Regions from separate parts of the Homo sapiens genome. Here all the other regions are linked to region 1. The links are contacts of gene promoters, found by promoter capture Hi-C in human tissues and cell types (Jung and others, 2019). All regions are on one chromosome and are shown on one strand. Each heading gives the region's core, a stretch centred on a gene start or on the middle of the fragment in contact. The rest is flanking DNA. Distances are from core to core; before and after follow the strand shown. Region 1 holds the start of ADAMTS14 (ADAM metallopeptidase with thrombospondin type 1 motif 14). Region 2 has its middle 18 kb from the start of PRF1. Region 3 has its middle 34 kb from the start of ADAMTS14. Region 4 overlaps ADAMTS14 (ADAM metallopeptidase with thrombospondin type 1 motif 14).

Region 1 (3,333 bases), core at 510-3,009:
TGACTTGCTTTCCTTGAGGCAGGAACAAGGGGGTGGAATGGAGCTGGGGCCCCTGAGTTTTCTAGGGGAGTCTTTCTGAGATGGCCCCACAGCAGAAAAGGGGCAATCCTTACGCCATGACTTTTTCCTTCTGTCCCGCAGGGTTCCCACTCTGCAGCTTGGAAAACTGAGACCCTGAGAAGGGAAGCCATTTTATCCAGAGATCATTTGGTGGGCTTGGGTTTGCAGAGGGCCAGAGCTGTGAAGCTCCAGCCTGGTCATCTCCCAGCCTTCTCTCTCTCTCTCTCTTTCTCTCTCTCTCTCTTTCTCTCTCTCTCTTTCCTATCTCTCTCTCTCTTTCCTCTCTCTCTCTCTCTCTCTCTCACACACACACACACACACACACACACACACACACACACCCTCTAACTTTCTTGCTCTGTCATCCCTCACACACAGAATCCTGTCTGGACCTTGACTTTGCACATCATTTTTTTTTTTTTTTGAGACAGGGTATTGCTCTGTCACCCAGGCTGGGTACAGTGGTGTGAGCTGAAGCTCAGCTCACTGCAGCTTCAGCCTCTCAGGCTAAAGCAACCCTTCCGCCTCAGCCTCCCAAAGTGTTGGGACTATAGGCGTGAGCCACTGCACGCAGCCAACACACATCTTAAAAGACCAGAAAGAGGAGAAAGAGGAACTCTATTCTTCCTGAATTTAATATAGATCAATTTGGTTGTGGCATTTCCAAATAACTGGATGCTCTGATGTAGCTTGGAATGCTTGGAATATAATATACTTTAGCTTTCTGAACCTGCTTCTTAAATGCACTGGTCCTCCAAAACCTTGGCATCATTTCCAAGATTCTTTATTCCATGGTTATTACAAAAAAATCTCCTTTCCACAACTCCCACCCCTGGATTGCTTGAAATATAGTTTATTTGCAAGTTATTAGTTACATATTTACAGAGTAAAGCAAGAGCATGGATCTTCTGTTGGGTTGTTTGTACTGACTCCTGACCTGGTCTCAACACCATTGCAAGACTAGCATCAAGTGCTCATCTCTCAGACTCTTGGTTCTTTCCACCTTGGGATGCCACAGTTGCTACTGGTGTCAGGGATGGAAGTGGAGGGCAGTTATCACTTATTGAGCATCTATTATGTGCTGTAGTTAACACCCATTTCACAGATAAGACAACTGAGGCTCAGAGCTAGGATTTCAATCAGGGCTGTCTGACTCTGAAGCCAGGGCTCTCTCCTCACCGGCTCAGCCCTGCTCTTGGCTAGGACACAGGTCAGTCGTGCACCCTGGGCTGGAGTCTGGAAAATGGGTAGATCCAAGGGGTCGATGGTTAGTGAGGGCATCAAGACCATAGTGAAAGAAAGAGGGAGTCTCCCTCTACCGGGAGGTTCACTGTCCACCACACTCCCAAATGCAGCCGGACACCCCTTGGGCTCCTGGCTCTGGAACAGAAACAGAGAGCAGGCCCTGCGGCCAAGAAAGGGGGCGGAGCAGCCATAGAAAGCGGCTTTGGGCCACCACTCCGGGGATCCCAGGCGTCTGAGGGGACAATCGGTCCGTGCGCCAGGAACCCCTGCTCTGTCTCCGCGTGGCACTTCCGATCCCCGGCCGCAGGCAGCTGCACTCCCCAGCCGCGCGCCCCGCCCCCGGGCGCCCGGCGCCCCAGCTCCGACCCGCGCCCGGCCCCGCCCCGCCCAGTGTGCCCACCCCCGGCCCGTCCCGCCGCCCCGTCGCCCGGCTCCCGCGGAGTCCCGGAGCGTCACTGCGCGGGCGGGCTGACCGACCAGCCGGCAGTTGGCACCGGGTGCGCTGGCGCGTCAGTGGCCCCGCTCTCCAGCCGGCAGCCTCGCGCGCCCGGAGCCAGCGGTCCAGGCGGCGGCGCCGCGCAGGGGACCCGGAGCAGGCGGGAGGGAAGCAGCTAGGCGGGGAGGCGGCTGAGGCGGCAGCGGCGGCAGCCAGCCGGTGCTCCGACAGCCCGGGGCGCACCCTAGCCTCGCCGCCCTCAGCCTGGGACTTGGGGATCGGGCGCTTGCCCAGCCCGCGTCCCAGCGCGGCCACATGGCTCCACTCCGCGCGCTGCTGTCCTACCTGCTGCCTTTGCACTGTGCGCTCTGCGCCGCCGCGGGCAGCCGGACCCCAGGTGCGTGCGGGTTGGGCGCGCGGGGGCCCGTGGGGTCCGGGGTGCACGCGGTCAGGGTGGCCCAAGGTTGCCCCAGCCACCCGGGCAGGGTTCCCGCGGGTGGGAGGCAGTATGCACACTCTGGGCTGATTTGCTGTCTTTTCTTCCACTGTGCCACGGCACTGTCCCGTGATTTCTCTCCCTTTCTGGTACTAGAAGTAGACAGAGACCCCAGGAGAGAATTTGGGAGCATCGAGTCTCTTCTCGGGAGCAGCGCATCTGTCTCTTTGTCTCTCTGTGTTTCTTCTTTCCCCTCTTCCCCAATCTGTTTCTCTGTCCTGTGTGTCTTTCTCTTTCAATGTCTTTTCTGTCTCCAACTTGTGTGAGCATGGGTGCAAGGGGTGTGTGTGTGTGTGTGTCTGTGTGTGGCTGTTACATACCCAGCATAAGGCTAACAGGTGATTGCCTCCTACAGCAGAGCATGCGGGGCACTCACGCTCCTGCACAGAAACACACATCCTTCCACTGCCCCCAACGTAGCACTGTCAAACGCTGTGGACACAGGTCTCTTGCATACAGACCAGATACACTCCACTCCCGCCCTGCAGCATGGGGTACCCTCCTGGTGGCTCTGAACATGGGGAGGAGTCACCGGTCATTTCCAGGCAGGGTCCCTCCTTGTTTGTGAGCCTTGTTCATGTGCCAGAGTGGGTCCCCTCTTGCAGCAGTCTTAGGGGTCCTCTGCTATAATGGGGATGAAACTAGAGCTGTGGGCATGGGGGATTTTCAGGAAACACCACTTTCTATGTTTCATCAGTGACGTGAACTGGGGAGACGAGAGGTAGAGCTGTGTGGAAATGAAAATTCCTCCCAAACTCGCATTCATGAATCACCAGGCCTGGAAGCCAGGGAGCTGTCATTCCTGCCCAGCCTGGCTGGGCTCAAGGAGAGCTGCGTGAGGATGGGCCTGCTGGCATGTGGCCTGGAGCATGGGGCCATGACCTCACAGTTAATTCAGCCCAAGTGGGCAGGTCACCCCCTGTATATCCTTTTATTTTTGAAGATCTATATTTATCCAGCTTGGGGCTCGGCCATACAGAGATCTCAGCGGCCACTGTCCTCCTGTAAAAAGTTTTCTTTCTAACCTTGGAAAAATAGAGAACCGCTCCCCTCTGCAGCCCCACCTTCTCCTTGACACGTGCCCATGGTCCCCTGG
Region 2 (3,168 bases), core at 652-3,151, 52 kb before region 1:
AAGATGCATGCGAAGGACTGGCAGGTAGCAAAGACTGTGCAGAGGTTTTCAGGGAGGAGAACAACAGGGGCAAAAGCATGGAGACAAAAAAGAGCGACTCACATGAAGGAAACAGCATGTGTTTCTGGGTTGGACTAGGATGTAGGGATAAATGAGTGGGTATTAATCATTATAACTGTAAGCATCCCATGTTTAACATGCACTCTCTGCCAGACACCTTGTGAATTTATAATTATCATGTAAATTAATCCTCCCAACAACCCATGAAATCGCCTCATAAAATCTTGAAACTTGCCAGCTAAATATCCTTCTAGGACAAAGTCTCACACAGAGGCAAAATGGCTGGGACTAGACTCTAAACTGAGCAAGACAGGGAGCCATGTACAGATAAGGTCCAGACAAAACTGGAGGAAGGCGACAGAGGAAGTCATTCCCAGAATCTTCAACCCATTTTAAAGACATTTTTCAGTACAACAGAAGAGGGAGCCCTAGAGTCACGAATCTAGGCCAAGAAATCTTTTCCCATTCTCCCCATTGAGGACTGCCCGAAAAACTATCTCACTTAAACATACGTAATGCAAAAGGATTGCAGAGGAGAAATCCAGTCCCATTCAGTTTTTGTTTTGTTTTGTTTTGTTTTGTTTTTAAAGAAAAAAGTTGATTAGCATAGTAACAGATCATCAGGCAATGATCTCTGGAAAGACATGCCCTACAAAATACATAAAATTTTTCATTTGATATTTTTAAATGAAGTAGAAGAGTTTTTAAAATGACAGAATTTAGGAAACTAAAGCATAAGTCAGGATTATAAAAATTAAGAGATGAGATAATTGGATACAAGGAAAATTTGAAAAGAGCTCACACAGAATTTAGTTAGGAAAAAACCATTTTTCTTTTCTAAAAAAAACCTCTAACCATTTTAGAAATAAAAAGAAGCTAGAATGAATAAATAACATAAATAATGTCATAAGAGAAATAGAAGATGAAACAGAGGAAATTAAAAAAATCAAAAGTGGAGACTGGTTTAAAAAAAGATATAAAGGTGATAGATATGGAAGATAGAGAAGATCCAACCCATGTATAAAAGAGACCTTAAAGAAGAAAACTGAAGTAATGAAACAGAATAAATACATACTGTAGTGAAATATGTTAACATACCTCTCTTTTTAACTGATAAAACAGGTGGACAATAAAATCAGTAAAGATACAAAAAAATTGAACAATGCAATGATAAGCTTGACCCAACTGACATATATAGGACACTGTACCCATACACCAAAGTGTTGATGAAAAGGCTAAACTTTGTAAAATATTTAAAGAGGCTTATTCAGAGCCAATATGAGTGACCATGGCCCAGGATACGTTCTCAAGAGGTCCTAAGAAAGTGTGCCCAAGGTGGTTGGGCTACAGTTTGGTTTTATACATTTTAGGGAACAAGAGTTGCAAGGAAAGACATAAGTCAATACATGGAAGGTGTACATTGGTTCAGCCTAAAGAGGTGGGATGTCTTATGGGGAGGGGACTGCTTCCAGGTCATATAGGTAGATTCAAAGATTTTCTGATTGGCAATTGGTTGAAAGAGTTAAGCTTTGTCTAAAGGCTTAAGAAGTCAGTAGAAAGGAATCCTTGAGCTAAGACAAGGGGGTTGTGGAAGCCAAGGCCCTTGTTACGTAGATGAAGTCTCATAGGTGGCAGCCCGCAGACAGCATGTGATGCCATACCAGAGTTAGGTTGGAATTTTGTGTTTTATTACTACAAAGAGTCTGTTTTGTCGGTCTTATGATCTCTCTTTTAATATTAATGCTGGCCAGTTGTGCCTAAACTCCAAAAGGGAGGGGGCATAATGAGGCCTCTCCAACTTCCCTTCCCATCATGATTTGGAATTCATTTTTTCAGGTTTTCCTTGGCCCAGAGGGAGTCCATTCAATCAGTTGGGTAGCTTAGGATTTTGTTTTTGGTTTACAAAAGAAATATGTCTTTTTTTCAAGTGCGTACTGAACATTTACCTAAATTGGCAATTTACTGGGCCATAAAATATCTCAAAACATTTCAATGGATTAAAAATTTACAGAGAATGTTACTCAGTGGATTAAGCAAGAAATCAATAACAAGAACAAAAAAACAAACAAACAAAAAATCAAAATGTTTGAAAATATACAAGGGTTAAATTACATTTAGCCTAAAGCTGCCTCCTTACATAGTTCAAGTTTGGCCTAAAGGTTTCTCAGTAAGTAATGAACTGTAACCTAACTGGATGTGTAAACAGACTATAACCTACTCTTTTATTTTATTTTATTTTTTTGACAGAGAGTCTCACTGTGTCACCTAGGCTGGAGTGCAATGGCACAATCTTGGCTCACTGCAACCTCCACCTCCCAGGTTCAAGTGATTCTTGTGCCTCGGCCTCGCAAGTAGCTGGGATTAGGTGCGCACCACCATGCCCAGCTAATTTTTGTATTTTTAGTAGACATGGGGTTTCACCATGTTGTCCAGGCTGGTCTTGAACTCCTGACCTCAGGTGATCCACCCGCCTTGGCCTCCCAAAGTGCTAGGATTATAGGTGTGGGCGACCATGCCAGGCCTTGTAACCTACTCTTGTAACAAGTAGGTCTTAGCCAATCACAGCAGTCATATTTCAACCACTTACAGGCAGCCAATGGTTCAAACCATGCTCAGATAAGGCAAACGCTTAGTTGCCTTTTGGATTGGCTGCCAAGCAACTAATCTGGCTGTTCCTGCGTCTCACTTCTGTTTTCTGTATTTCACTTTCCCTTTTCTGTCCATAAATCCTTTCCAACCACCAGAGTCACTTTGAACCTCTTCTGGTTCTAGGGACTGCCCAATTTGTGAAATGTTCTTTGCTCAATTAAACTCTGTTAAATTTAATTTGTCTAAAACTTTTCTTCTAACACCAATATCCTTCAAAATAAGTTCCAAATCAAAGAATAAGTCAGAAAATACTTTTAACTGAATGATAAAAATATGATACACTAAAATACATGGGATGCAACTAATATTATGTTTAGAGGGAAGTTTATGGTCATAAATGCACATTTCAGAAAAGGAGAAAGATTTAATATTGTAAAAAAACAAAATATGTTACTCTAAAATATGGTTTTAGCAGATCAGAATATGCCACTCCAAAATATGCCTCTGGCATAAGAATGA
Region 3 (2,999 bases), core at 155-2,654, 34 kb before region 1:
TTTTTTAAAAGGTAAACATACATACACCTAAGAGCAAGCAGTCCCACTCCTGCCCCCATAGAAATAATTGCTTATGTCCAACAAAGGATATGTACAAGACTGGTCATGGCAGTGCTGTGCATAAATAGCCCAAATGGAAACAACCCAAATGCCCATAAACAATAGGATGGGTGAATAAATGATAGAATATTCATGCAATGGAATTTTATACAGCAGCAAAAAAATGATGAATGACTGATACAAGAGACAAGTATGGATGAATCTCACATAAAAATGTTGAATTTGAGACCAGCCTGGCCAACATAGTGAAACCCTGTCTCTACCAAAAATACAAAAAATTAGCTGGGTGCAGTGGCGGGCTCCTGTAATCCCAGCTACTTGGGAGGCTGAGGCAGGAGAATGGCTTGAACCCAGGAGGTGGAGGTTGCAGTGAGTCGAGATCACACCATTGCACTCCAGACCGGGCGACAGTGTGAGACTCCGTCTAAAAAAAAAAAAAAAAAAGTTGAGTGAACAAAACCAGACACAATAGAATACAAACTGTATGATTCCATGTAAATGAAATTTAAAATGGGGAAAATGAATCTGTGGCGACAGAAGTCAGAAGACTGGTCATTTTGTCAAGCAGTGTTAGGGATGGAGAGGGTAGTACATGGAGGGGCTTTCTGGACAGCTTATGATCCTTCCTTCCTTCCTTCCTTCCTTTCCTTTTTTTTTTTTTTTTTTTTTTTAAGACAGAGTCTCGCTCTTGTAGCCCAGGCTGGAGTGCAATGTGGCACGATCTCGGCTCACTGCAACCTCTGCCTCCTGGGTTCAAGCGATTCTCCTGCCTCAGCCTCCCGAGTAGCTGGGATTACAGGAAAGTACCACCATGCCTAGCTAATTTTTGTATTTTCAGTAGAGACAGAGTTTCGCCACGTTGGTCAGGCTGGCCTCGAACCCCTCAGGTGATCCTCTGCCTCAGCCTCCCAAAGTGCTGGGATTACAGGCGTGAGCCACCGCTCCTGGCCTATTATCTTGTTTTTCATGCCACATATATAAAGGAAATTTGTCAGTTGCATCATTCTTGCCATGAACTCTCATTATACCTTTACATTTAAAAGTTATCAGGCACAAATTAACCACAACCTTTTTTTCTGAGATGGAGTTTCGCTCTTGTTGCCCAGGCTGGAGTGCAATGGCGCGATCTCGGCTCACAGCAACCTCCGCCTCCCGGGTTCAAGCTATTCTCCTGCCTCAGCCTCCCGAGTAGCTGGGATTACAGGCATGCACCACCACCATGACTAATTTTGTATTTTTAGTAGAGATGGGGTTTCTCCATGTTGGTCAGGCTGGTCTTGAACTCCCGACCTCAGGTGATCTGCCCGCCTTGGCCTCCCAAAGTGCTGGGATTACAGGCATGAGCTGCCGCTCCCGGCAACCATTTTTTTTTTTTTTAAATAGGCTGGGCATGGTGGCTCATGCCTCTAATCCCAGCACTTTGGGAGGCCGAGGCGGGTGGACCACTTGAGGTCAGGAGTTTGAGACCAACCTGGCCAACATGATGAAACCTTGTCTCTACCAAAAAAAAAAAAAAAAAAAAAAAAAAAAATACAAAAATTAGCTGGGCATGGTGGCGTGCTCCTGTAGTCCCAGCTAGTCAGGAGGCTGAGGTGGGAGGATTGCCTCTACCTGAGAGGTGGAGATCACACCACTGCACTCCAGCCTGGGCGACAAAGACCCTGTCTTAAAAAAAAAAAAAAGAAAAAAGGAAAAAGTGAAAATAATTGTCCCATTATAAAATAAGTACCCTTGGGAGGTAGTGAGCTTCCCATCACTGGGGAGATGCAGACAGCTGCTGGTGCCTGAGCACTGGGTAGAGGAGTCGGCAGGGGCGGAGTATGTGCACTGGGGGAGAAGTGGGGCAGATCAGACCAGTGCATGCTGAGATTCTACTTTTTGGAGACTCTGCTTCTCACTATAAAGTGGCGTTCTGATATTTTAGACGCTTTTAAGTTTTTTTTTTAAATTATTATTTCTTTTTTATTATACTTTAAGTTCTAGGGTACATGTGCACAACGTGCAGTTTTGTTACATAGGTATACATGTGCCACGTTGGTTTGCTGCACCCATCAACTTGTCATTTACATTAAGTATTTCTCCTAATGCTATCCCTCCCCCAGCCCCTCACCCCCTGGCAGGCCCCGGTATGTGATGTTCCCGCCCTGTGTCCATGTGTTCTCATTGTTCAACTCCCACCTATGAGTGAGAACATGCAGTGTTTGGTTTTCTGTCCTTGTGATAGTTTGCTTAGAATGATGGTTTCTAGCTTCATCCATGTCCCTGCGAAGGACATGAATTCATCCTTTTTTATGGTTGCATAGTATTCCATGGTGTATATGTGCCACCTTCTCTTAATCCAGTCTATCGTTGATGGACATTTGGGTTGGTTCCAAGTCTTTGCTATTGTGAATAGTGCCACAATAAACATACGTGTGTGTGTATCATTATTGTAGAATGATTTATAATCCTTTGGGTATATGCCCAGTAATGGGATTGCTGGGTCAAATGGTATTTCTAGTTCTAGATCCTTGAGGAATCACCACACTGTCTTCCACAATGGTTGAACTAATTTACACTCCCACCAACTGTGTAAAAGCGTTCCTATTTCTCCACATCCTCTCCAGCATCTACTATTTCCTGACTTTTTAATGATTGCCTTTCTAACTGGCGTGAGATGGTATCTCATTGTGGTTTTGATTTGCATTTTTCTGATGACCAGTGATGATGAGCATTTTTACATGTCTGTTGGCTGCATAAATGTCTTATTTTGAGAAGTGTCTGTTCATATCCTTTTCCCACTTTTTGATGGGTTTTTTTTTTTCTTGTAAATTTGTTTAAGTTCTTTGTAGATTCTGGGTATTAGCCCTTTGTCAGATGGGTAGACTGTAAAAATTTTCTCCCATTCTGTAGGTTGCCTGTTCACTCTAATGATAGTTTATTTTGCTGTGGAGAAGCTC
Region 4 (3,071 bases), core at 194-2,693, 43 kb after region 1:
CTGTGTGTCTGCAGACCACTGCACAAGATATAATTGCAAGCTGGGTGCCGTGACTCACACCTATAATCCTAGCACTTTGGGAGTCCAAGACAGGAGGATTGCTTGAGGCCAGGAGTTCAAGACAAGCCTGGGCATAGCAAGTCCCCATTTCTACAAAAAAATTTAAAAAATTAGCCAAGCAAGGTGGTGCACACCTGTAGTCCCAGCTACTCAGGAGGTTGAGGTGGGAGGATCGCTGGAGCCCAGGAGTTCAAGGCTGCAGTGAGCTATGATTGTGCCGCTGCACTCCACCCTGGCCAACAGAATAAGACCCTGTCTCTAGAATTAAAAAAAAAGAATATCATTGTAGAAATTATTAGTATTGTTTTTGAGCAACCACTGGGAGCCAGACTCTTTGTAGACTCGACCTCATTTATTTAAGTCTCCCCATAACCCTGTGAGAGGTCTGAGTAGCCTCAATGTCCTTACATAGAAACTGGCGTGCAGAGACAGGCTGTAACTTGCTAGTCTGCCCTCTGGTAGGCCGTGGGGCTGGGATCTGAGCACCACTGTGTCCACTCCAGAGCTCACCCTCTTCCCCAGGCCTGGTGCCAGCTGGTGCTGTCCGTGGCTGGTGACCCAGCTGTTATGGTAGAAAAACTTTTCTCCACCCTCTTATGTTCAGTACTGGAGGGCTTGTGAGTTAAACTGAAAGAGATGGACTGGCAGGAGAAAAGAGTTGATTTGCCAGTTCCTTGTATATAGGGGTGCTCCATGATGAGTACCTCAAAGGGGTGGTGAAAACTGGGGGTTTGGCCAGGTACAGTGGCTCACGCATGTAATCCAGTACTTTGGGAGGCTGAGGCAGGTGTATCACCTAAGGTCAGGAGTTTGAGACCAGCCTGACCAATATGGCGAAACCCCGTCTTTACTAAAAATACAAAAATTAGCTGGGTGTGGTGGTGCGCCTGTAGTTCCAGCTGCTCGGGAGGCTGAGGCAGGAGAATTGCTTGAACCTGGGAGGCGGAGGTTGCAGTGAGCCGAGATCGGGCCATTGCACTCCAGCCTGGGCCACAGAGGGAGACTGCAGTCTCAAAAAAAAAAAAAAAAAAAAAAAAAAGAAACAAAACCTGGGGGCTTATATTCTTAGCTTAATAGGGAGAGAAAGGGGAAGGGAGAAAGGTTTCTTTAGGAAAGACAAGTGGGTTTTTAGGAGAACTAACGGGAGATGAAGTTTGTGATAATGCTTACTTAAGCAGGGTCAAGTGGTATTTCTGTCTTTATGACCGTGAAATTCCCTTAAGGGGATTTCTGACAACCTCTTTTCCCAGATGCTGCTGCTTTTAAGGAAAGCTGAGAAGGCTTCTTTCTGCATCTGTTGGCTTTCAGATGTCTTCAGCTTACACTGATCTGTATCCTAATGCTGGGGTTCCAAATGGGCCCTCACACAGGCTGGGAACAGGACCCCAGGAGAGGGAGTGCTTGTATGCATGTATGTCCTGGAGGGGCCATGACCTGTGCCAGCTCCTACAGTCTCTGCTTGGTGAGGGGCTCCACATGCATGGTTTCTGGGCACTGTGTGCCCTCAGCGAGGCCCCTTCCAGACCCACTGAGTGGCCTGGTCTGAGCCCCTGATAAGGGCTCTAAGAGGGTCAGCTCAAATGATGGGGGTGAGGGTGGAGGGGATACTCTTTGGGGCTATGGGAAAAACAATGAAACCCACTGCTGAGGTGGAGAGCTGAAGGCAGCGAAGTTTGGAAGGTAGTGGGGAGAGTAGATGGGAGCTTGTTCCCCAAGCAGAATTTGGGAGCTTCCCTTGGAAACCAGAAGAGGTCTTTTGATGGGCTATAAGTGAGATGTTTCTTTCTATTGGGCAAAGTGTACTTTTGAAACTTGGCATTCCAGGGCTGGCCTGGCCTGAAACGTGATGCATTCAGAAGGGGGTAGGAAGCCCTCCAATCTGGAGTTATAAGAGACCACGTGGATGGTGGCAGGAGTGGGTGGGAAGTTCTCTCTGAGCCCTTGATGTTCATGATGTGGAGGCCAGCTGCCCACTTATCCTTCTCTGGTGTTCCCCTGACGTCCCTAGGACTTTACTGTTGGAGGAAGGCAGGCTCAGTAACCCATTCTAACCTTCTTGGCCAAATTAACACATTCTGACTTTTGACCCTTGACCTCTGACTCATGCATGACTCAAAGCTGTGGCCGGGGAACATTGTCAGTTTCCACTGAAGACTGGGCCCCGAGGGCCTGCCTTGGTGACTGCTGTTTGGATAGTCTTGGTCCTACCTTCCTTCTCCCCACAATCTGCCAGAAAGTGGGTGAGGAGAGAGGAGAGTAATGATCTTCCCAGAGGTTCTGGAAGGCCGCTAGAGGCTAGGTCTTCTGCTCACTGCTGGGTTGCCCTGTGAATGTGGGAACAGAAAGGGCCTGCGATGGGTGAGGGGCACAGCTGAGGCAGAGCTTCCCCTGAGGGAAGCCCAGTTCCTCTTGGGGAGAGAGGCTCACAGCATTGAGATGGACTGCGGCTTAAAGGAGCCATGACCTTGCAGACCTGCTGCTGCCATCGCGGGTACATGGGCGGTGTGGGGTTCTGGCTTCCCCCGAACAGGTGCAGAGGACGGACAGTCAAACTTCCCAGCAAGGGAAGGAGAGCAGATGGGGACCGACAGTCTGCCTCCCTGGGGACCAGCAGCTCATCCTGTCCATTGTGTGGAAGCTTTTATTTGGCTGGGATGCTTGACGCTCGAATTGCCTTAGGGGATTTCCATGGGGCCAGTAATAACAGCTTGCCTTTGCATTCCCCTTGGAACACCTGTCTGCTGTGACCATTTCTGATCCTGATTTCCGGGGCCAGGTCTGGGCTGGCGGGACCAGAGGGAGGAGATCTGGTTCCTGGGATGGATGGTCCCATTGTGCTCTCAACCCAGGGAGGAGGGGGCAGAAGCCATTAGTGAAGCACCCAAAGTTATCTGACAAGGCCCTGGGCACTGCTGTCAGGGGCAGCTGGAGGGACAGTCTGGGTGGCCCTGCCTCCTATATGTCTTTTGCATTGACCTGGGGAGGTGCTATGGATATTCCTGCAGCTTCAG

The links. Contacts are between HindIII fragments. The study calls those that stand out against the background at their distance.
Region 2: a contact is called between a fragment that was not itself captured here and the fragment with the promoter of ADAMTS14 in region 1, in 8 of the 25 tissues and cell types used here (H1 embryonic stem cells, IMR-90 fibroblasts, heart left ventricle and 5 more).
Region 3: a contact is called between a fragment that was not itself captured here and the fragment with the promoter of ADAMTS14 in region 1, in 1 of the 25 tissues and cell types used here (spleen).
Region 4: a fragment that was not itself captured here is called in contact with the fragment with the promoter of ADAMTS14 in region 1 in 1 of the 25 tissues and cell types used here (spleen).

What each region holds. Positions count from the first base shown.
Region 1 is chr10:70,670,747-70,674,079 of GRCh38, forward strand. ADAMTS14 (ADAM metallopeptidase with thrombospondin type 1 motif 14) reads left to right here and starts at 1,760. Exons shown (of 22, transcript NM_080722.4): 1 at 1,760-2,138. The coding sequence starts at 2,057. RefSeq lists a silencer at 347-641. The HindIII fragment of the contact is 21,684 bases long and covers 1-3,333 here.
Region 2 is chr10:70,618,996-70,622,163 of GRCh38, forward strand. No RefSeq gene overlaps it. Among named protein-coding and RNA genes, the nearest start is that of PRF1, 18 kb to the left of the region's middle. The HindIII fragment of the contact is 5,049 bases long and covers 1-3,168 here.
Region 3 is chr10:70,637,470-70,640,468 of GRCh38, forward strand. No RefSeq gene overlaps it. Among named protein-coding and RNA genes, the nearest start is that of ADAMTS14, 34 kb to the right of the region's middle. The HindIII fragment of the contact is 7,837 bases long and covers 1-2,999 here.
Region 4 is chr10:70,713,874-70,716,944 of GRCh38, forward strand. The region is part of intron 4 of ADAMTS14 (ADAM metallopeptidase with thrombospondin type 1 motif 14); the gene reads left to right. Among named protein-coding and RNA genes, the nearest start is that of ADAMTS14, 43 kb to the left of the region's middle. The HindIII fragment of the contact is 3,690 bases long and covers 1-3,071 here.